2 separate regions of the Homo sapiens genome follow, and region 2 is linked to region 1. The links are contacts of gene promoters, found by promoter capture Hi-C in human tissues and cell types (Jung and others, 2019). All regions are on one chromosome and are shown on one strand. The core of a region is centred on a gene start or on the middle of the fragment in contact, and the rest is flanking DNA. Distances in the headings are between cores, read along the strand shown. Region 1 holds the start of VWA3A (von Willebrand factor A domain containing 3A). Region 2 has its middle 12 kb from the start of UQCRC2.

What was found. Contacts are between HindIII fragments. The study calls those that stand out against the background at their distance.
Region 2: a fragment that was not itself captured here is called in contact with the fragment with the promoter of VWA3A in region 1 in 2 of the 25 tissues and cell types used here (H1 embryonic stem cells and dorsolateral prefrontal cortex).

The regions. Positions count from the first base shown.
Region 1 is chr16:22,090,960-22,094,547 of GRCh38, forward strand. VWA3A (von Willebrand factor A domain containing 3A) reads left to right here and starts at 1,582. Exons shown (of 34, transcript NM_173615.5): 1 at 1,582-1,692. The coding sequence starts at 1,679. LOC105371129 (a long non-coding RNA gene) reads right to left here and starts at 1,272. Exons shown (of 4, transcript NR_188624.1): 1 at 1,249-1,272. It also overlaps a transcript of MOSMO not described here. The HindIII fragment of the contact is 3,787 bases long and covers 512-3,588 here.
Region 2 is chr16:21,939,542-21,943,129 of GRCh38, forward strand. It overlaps the pseudogene ABCA3P1. Among named protein-coding and RNA genes, the nearest start is that of UQCRC2, 12 kb to the right of the region's middle. The HindIII fragment of the contact is 6,103 bases long and covers 1-3,588 here.

The DNA of each region.
Region 1 (3,588 bases), core at 332-2,831:
TGTTGAAAACCCATGTATGCAGGAAGCAAAGAAAGGTGTGAGGGTGGTAGACGACCTGCTTGGGGCTCCCGTGCCTAAAAAAAAAAAAATGTTGTCAAAATTAGCCAGCCCCTTCCACCCAAAATTTCCATCAAGATGGGCACAAGGACCCTCATCTCTTGTTCACCGAGTAGCCATTGGTTGCTCACAGCCACTTATGACCTTCTTACCTCTTTCTGATCTTCCTCATTTTCTGCCTTATTGGTGCTGGCCACATAACAAATGCTGTGGTCTTATACATGGTGCTCTCAACCCCAGTGACCAGTGGTTGATAAGGAGTTTCTATTTTGAGCACGTTGGTTGTTTCTGACCTGGCCTATAGGCATGGCTGCTGGGGTCAACATCTGAAGGGTGTTCCCTACCATATGATGACTACCACAAGTGGCATATGTTCTTTATTTTTGAGACAGGGTCTTGCTCTGTAGCCCAGGCTGGAGTGCAGTGGTGCGATCATAGCTCGCTGTAGCCTTGAACTCTTGGGCTCAAGCGATCCTCCCACCTCAGCCTTCCAAGTAGCTGGGACTACAAGCACAAGCCACTGTACCTGACTAATTTTTATTTTATTTTATTTTTGTAGAGACAGAGTCTCACTGTGTTGCCCAAGCTGATCTCAAATTCCTGGCCTCAAGCAGTCCTCCCGCCTCAGCCTCCCAAAGTGCTGGGATTACAGACATGAGCCACCACCCAACCTCATGTTCTAACTGATAAAACTTACAAGTTTATAAAACTTATAAAATTCTCAGAAAGTGAAAACTGATTTGAGAAATGACCTGGATATGAAAAACTAAGTACAGATCCTTTAGCGACTTACAAGTTGGTTGACTTTGGTGACATCACTTTGTCTCTCTTGACCACTATAAAAGAAGGGTTTGGAGAGATTCCCAGCTATGGGCCAAGGACTAGTTACATCATAATCACCTGGGGCCATTGTTAAAAAGTCACATTCCCACACCTTTTCACAGTTCTGAATCAATCTCCTGAATGGGAATGTTTTCCTAGCAAACAATCCAGGTGATTCTCATGGGCATCCGGGCTTAGGAACCACTGTGGCAGATGATCTCTTCTGATGCGAAGAGGTCACTGAGCTTGGCTGTGTTAGCCAGGTTTAGGTGGGGCTGGACCGGGTAGGGATAGGGGACTGTCTGACCTCTCCCAGGGACTGTGTTCAGGGAACCCAAGGGAATCTGAGAAGGAAGAGAAAGTTACCACCTTTGACACATGTGGCAGAGTTCTCTGGAACCTCTCCTCTGTTCCTACCACAGGAAGGCCACAGGCACGCACCAGGGCTGTACTGGCCTAAACCATAGTTCTGTGCTGACTGAGAGGTTCTGAAATTAGAAAAGAGGTCTAAATCCTGCTTCCAGGTTTTTGTGAGGTGGAGAAAAGCAGAGTGACCTGGGAGAAGTGGTTATCAACAACACAGCTGGTGACTTCTTCCCTGGGGTGAGGAAGGTTTTCCCTTTCCCTGCCCCGAGCTGCAGTGGTGCAGTCTGTTACCTTGGAGACCAGCTAACACATTCCCGCAGGGCAAGCTTCGCTGCTGAGTTGCTTGGAGGAGCTTGGAGAAACCAGAAGTGAGATCCAGGAGAAGTAAGGCCCTGGAGTGCCAGGAGCCCTTCTCCCAAAGATGGAGAAATAAATGAAGAAATACAGGTGAGGGTGAGCATCACAAGGGTTGACAGGGGTGGTGAGAGGGTGTCGGGGAGGCCAGATACTAAGCTCTGGACTGAGTGAGAAGATCGAGGGAGCTTGGGGTGTGAAGTGTCCACTCCCTACATGCCGAGCATTGGGCTAAATGCTGGGGTGCCAGTAGACAAGGAAGTCATGGAGCCGGTCTAGGAGACAGGCCATGACAACTCCATATGACCAAGTGAAGGGGCAGCGACAGGAGGACTTCCACAGGAGGAGTGGTTTCCTCCCTGGGGACAGCAAATGGGATTCAGGAAAGACTCCTATTATTATTATTATTATTTTCACCCAATAATCAAGGTTCCCTCTCTCCCTTGGACCAAAATGCCATCTGCCATGGCCTGGTTGTTCTTTTCCTCTCCTGCAATCACCTCCCAGGGTAATTCAGCTCACCTTTGCCTAAACTCTGGACCTGCTCTGAGTGCATTTATTCAACAAATGTTTTTTGAGCAGCTACTGTGTTCTAAACTCTATTTTATGCAAAAATGTCCTAGCTGTGAACATTACTAAGTCCCGGCCCAAATGGATCTACTTCTAGTATGTTTATGTAGGAGGGGTGCGCGGGGGTTCAGACAGTAAATAACTAAATATATAGAAAATTTAAAACAAGTAGATAAGCAAATATATAGAATGTATTTACTGTTAAGTAAATAAGTGAATATATATAGTGAAACATGCTGTGGGGAAAGACAAAGCCAGGTGGAGGAGGTGCTGTTTGAGTTAAGGTACTCACAGAAGACCTCTCTAATAAGATTTCATTTGAGCAAAGGCCTGAGGGAAAGGGCTGCGTCCTGTTCATGTCTATCTCCCCAGCACCCGTTCTCTCTGGCACGCAGTGAGTGCTCTATAAATGTTCATGAAACACATGATTGTTTTTGTGTCATATGCTGAAGTGCTTGAAGATGCAGCCCATATTTTATGGTATTCTACATTTGTATAGTACTTCATATTTCACAAAGCAGTTCTACTTTCTCAATTTCATTTGATCCTCTTGATAACAGCATTGAAGTAGGCAGGTCAGTTACTGTTATCCCCATTCCATTCTAAAGATGAAGAAACCAAAGGTTCAGCACTTTTTTGTTTGTTCGTTTGTTTGAGACAGAGTCTCACTCCAACACCCAGGCTGGAGTGCAGCGATGCGATCACAGCTCACCGCAGCCTCAAACTCCTGGGCTCAAGTGACCTGCCCACCCCATCCTCCCTAGTAGCTGGGACTACAGGTGCGCACTGCCATGCCCAGCTAATTTTTGTATTTTTTTTTTTTTTATATAGAGACGGGGTCTCGTTATGTTGGCTAGGCTACTCTCAAACTCCTGGCTCAAGCAATCTCCCTGCCTCAGCCTCCCAATGTGCTGGGATTGCAGGCATGAGCCATTGCACCCGGCCCCGTGCTTTTTCTGGAGCACTATTTTGTTTTGTTTATTTTATGCAGTTCAACCCCTTCTCCATCAGCCTGCACCAGTCACCCCAGAATCTAGCCATGCAGTCCTCTGAATTCATTAAGAGCTGTTAATCACTGGCTGGAAAGAGGGAAGTGAGACACTATGGGGCGGCCAGTGTTCATGAGGCATTTCTATTTCAACAGTCTCTGCCATTAGAGTCTCCCAGGAAAGCTTGCTGAAGTAAAGCCAGTTTTTTTTTTTTTTTTAAAGCATTGCCACATTATCCTGGTGCTTCCCAGAAAACAAAGCATCCTCTGAATAAAAGATTAAAGACTTGAAAGAGAAAAGCAAGTTGCCAAACCATTATTAGGCTGTTTAATTTAATGATTTCACAAGAACACACACTCTAAGTTGCAACTTTATTCAGAGTCTCTCACTTGCTGTGTCTTAGCTGGTATTTTTTTGGTTGCAAATAACA
Region 2 (3,588 bases), core at 394-2,893, 150 kb before region 1:
AATCAGCATTGGGACATCCATGTTAAGTGTTTGCTGGGACTCTCAGCATTTGGGAAATTTGTACTAACTCTTTCCTATACATAGCTGATATGTATAGCCATTTTTTCTCTCACTTTTTCTCTCCTTCTTTGGCCATGAAGTGAAGGAAACAAACGTAGGCTGAGTACTGCTATTGCCCTAATGGGAAGGTCTTCAGTCATCTTCCTGGATGAGCCATCAACTGGCATGGACCCAGTAGCCAGACGCCTGCTCTGGAACATGGTGACAAAGACACGTGAAAGTGGAAAAGCCATCGTTATGACCTCCCACAGGTATGGCTCATTGGGAGGCTTGGTTGAAGGCTAGCAAGAGTTTTAGTGGCTATAAGAAGGAATTATTTAGGCCCAGTGGATAATATTGGACACTAAACTTGCCTGAGTATGTTAGCTCCTCATCAGGAATTAGGATTCATGTTAATCCTAATAAATCAAATGGCCAAAAATCCTCACTGAGTTTAAAAAAAAAGTGAGGAAAAGACAGGACTTCAGAAGATGTTCTATTTGAAAATTGAGCGCTGTGTTCTTTTTCGTTTGAAAAATTCCCACTTCCCATCTATGTGCTTTATGATTGGAAAAATACAAATTCTGATTGAAAATAGGGTCACAAAATTCTGGCTCTGATTGAACTACACAATGTCTTCCAAAAGAGAACTTTTTATTTTTACCCTTACAACATTCTGCCCTTTTGTTTTCCAAGTATGGAGGAATGTGACGCCCTCTGTACCAGTCTAGCCATCATGGTGCAAGGGAAGTTCACTTGCTTGGGCAGCCCTCAGCATCTCAAGAGCAAGTTTGGCAACATTTACATCCTGAAGGTCAAGGTCAAGACTGAAGATAAATTAGAGGATTTTAAATGTTATGTTGCAACAACATTTCCAGGTAAATTAAGTTGTGCTACCTTTGTCAGAAATGTATTAAATTGGCCGGGCGCACTGGTTCACGCCTGTAATCCCAGCACTTTTGGGAGGCTGAGGTGGGCAGGTCATTTGAGCTCAGGAGTTTGAGAAATGTGTTAAATCATATTTGTTGTTCTCACCATCCATATGATTTATGTCTTCAATACCAGTTTTCTGTGAGTTATTGATAGGTATTGATTTTCTATAATGTTCCTTTGGCAATGTTTGATATTATAGTCTCTTATGCCAGATTATGCTAAGTTTCACAAAAAGCAGAAGTCCTCACAAACTCTTACATCACCTAACAAGGCACTTTTATGTTTGTGCTGTCCATATAAATTAGTTGGGCGCAGTAGCTCATGCCTGTAATTCCAGCAACTTGGAAGGCTGAGGCCAGAGAATTGCTTGAGCCCCAGGGTTTAAGGCTGCAATGAGCTATGATTGTGCCATTGCACTCCAGCCTGGCAAGACCCCATCTCTAAAAAAATTAATGATAATAAATAAAAACTAAAAATAAATTATATATCTAAAGTCCTATTTTAGCATAATTCTCAATTATTTTTACAGATTATTCATGCCAAATTTTAAGGTTTTTTCCTTCACACTGCTCATGCAACTTTATGCTTTTGCTGTCTCAGCTAGGATATGGTATTGAAATGCAAATAAGAACTGGTATTTCTCTCCTTTCAAGAGTAGTTTGGTTTCTGAGTGCCGTTTCTTCATGCTAAATTCAGTAAGCACCTCTCCGCCTACATGGAACAGTACAAGAGAGAGCATGCATTTCGATCTCTTATCTCTCTTTCCTTAACCTAAAGCATGGGCAATGGCAAGGCTTTTAATAATTCTGGTTTTTCATCTTAGTTTCCACTTTGTTAGGCTGAGCAAAATACCGCAGAAGTTCCCGTTGTGTGTTAGGCTAAGGGGTTGAAAATTTGTCTCCTAGGCAATGGAAAATAGCAAAATTGATTACACAGTAAGAATGAAAATCAGGGCCGGGCACAGTGGCTCATGCTTGTAATCCCAGCACTTTGGGAGGCTGAGGTGGGCGGATCACCTGAGGTCAGGAGTTTGAGACCAGCCTGGCCAACATGATGAATCCCCATATCCATTAAAAATACAAAAATTAGCTGTACATGGTAGCACACACCTGTGGTCTCAGTTACTCAGGAGGCTGAGGCAGGAGAATTGCTTGAACCGGGGAGGCGGAGGTTCCAGTGAACAGAGGTCATGCCATTGCACTTTAGCCTGGGTGACAGAGAGAGACTCTGTCTCAAAAAAGCAAAAAGAGAAGAAAATCAGAAAATAGATACGAAATGGATGGTCAAGCATATGTGGAGAACGAGCTGTGTAGAAAAATTATCACCTCGGTGTTGGTCATAGTGTTTATGGTGTGCCCTTGACACATGTAGATGGATATGTCCATTAAGAAGTTGAATATTCATTTATGCATTCATGTGGCAAATATTTTTGAGGACTTATTGTGTCAAGAGTTCTATTTGATGTGATCAATAAATCACTTTAGGAAAGCTCTATAGGCTGGGCACAGTGGCTCACGTCTGTAATCCCAGCACTTTGGGAGGCCAAGGCAGGTGGATCACGAGGTCGGGAGTTTGAGACCAGCCTGGCCAATATTGTGAAACCCCATCTCTACCAAAAATACAAAAATTAGCCGGGCATGGTGGTGGGTGCCTGTAATCCCAGCTACTTGGGAGACTGAGGCAGGAGAATCGCTTGAACCCAGAAGGTGGATGTTGCGGTGAGCCGAGATCGTGCCACTGGACTCCAGCCTGGGCAACAGAGTGAGACTCCATCTTAAAAACAAAAACGAAAACAAAAAGCTCTGCACACTTCAAGATAACACAGAAAAACAATTCAACAAAATCGGGTAAACAATAAATGACCCAGACTAGTAACTTAATAGAGAAATTGAAATTACTTTTTAAAAAATCAAACAGAAATCATGGATATGTAATATACAGTGAATAAAATGAATAATGCAGTAGAAAGCATTAACAGCAGAGTTTATCAAGCAGAGAAAAATATCTCAACTCAAAATAGGTTTTTTGAAAATATACAGTTAGATGATTAAAAGAAAAATTAAGAGGAATGAAGAAAGCTCATGGGATTTATAGAACAGCATCAAAAGAGCCAGTGTTTACATTATTAGAGTTTGTGAGGAAGAAGAAAAAACAAATTGTTGGAAAGCTTAAAGAAATAAAAGCAGAAGATTTTCCAAATACTAAGAAAAACATAAATATCCAGGTACAAGAGGGTCACATATCTGCATTCGGATTCAATACAAACAAGGCTACATCAAGACATTATAATTAAATGGTCAAAAATCAAGCACAAAGAGAGGATCTGAAAGCAGCAAGAGAAAAAAAAAGCAAATAACATATAAGGGAGATTCCATAAGGCTAGCTATAGGTGTCTCAACCAGGACCTCATAGGCAAGGAGAGAGTAGGATGACATGTTCAAAGTACTGAAGAGAAAAAAACCCTGCCAACCAAGATACTGTATCCAATACTATGTTGAATAGGAGTGGTAAGAGAGGACATTCTTGTGCCAGTTGTTCTTGTGCCAGTTTTCAAGGGGAATGCTTCCAGCTTTTGCCCATTCAGTATGATATTGGCGGTGGGTTTGTCATATGTCA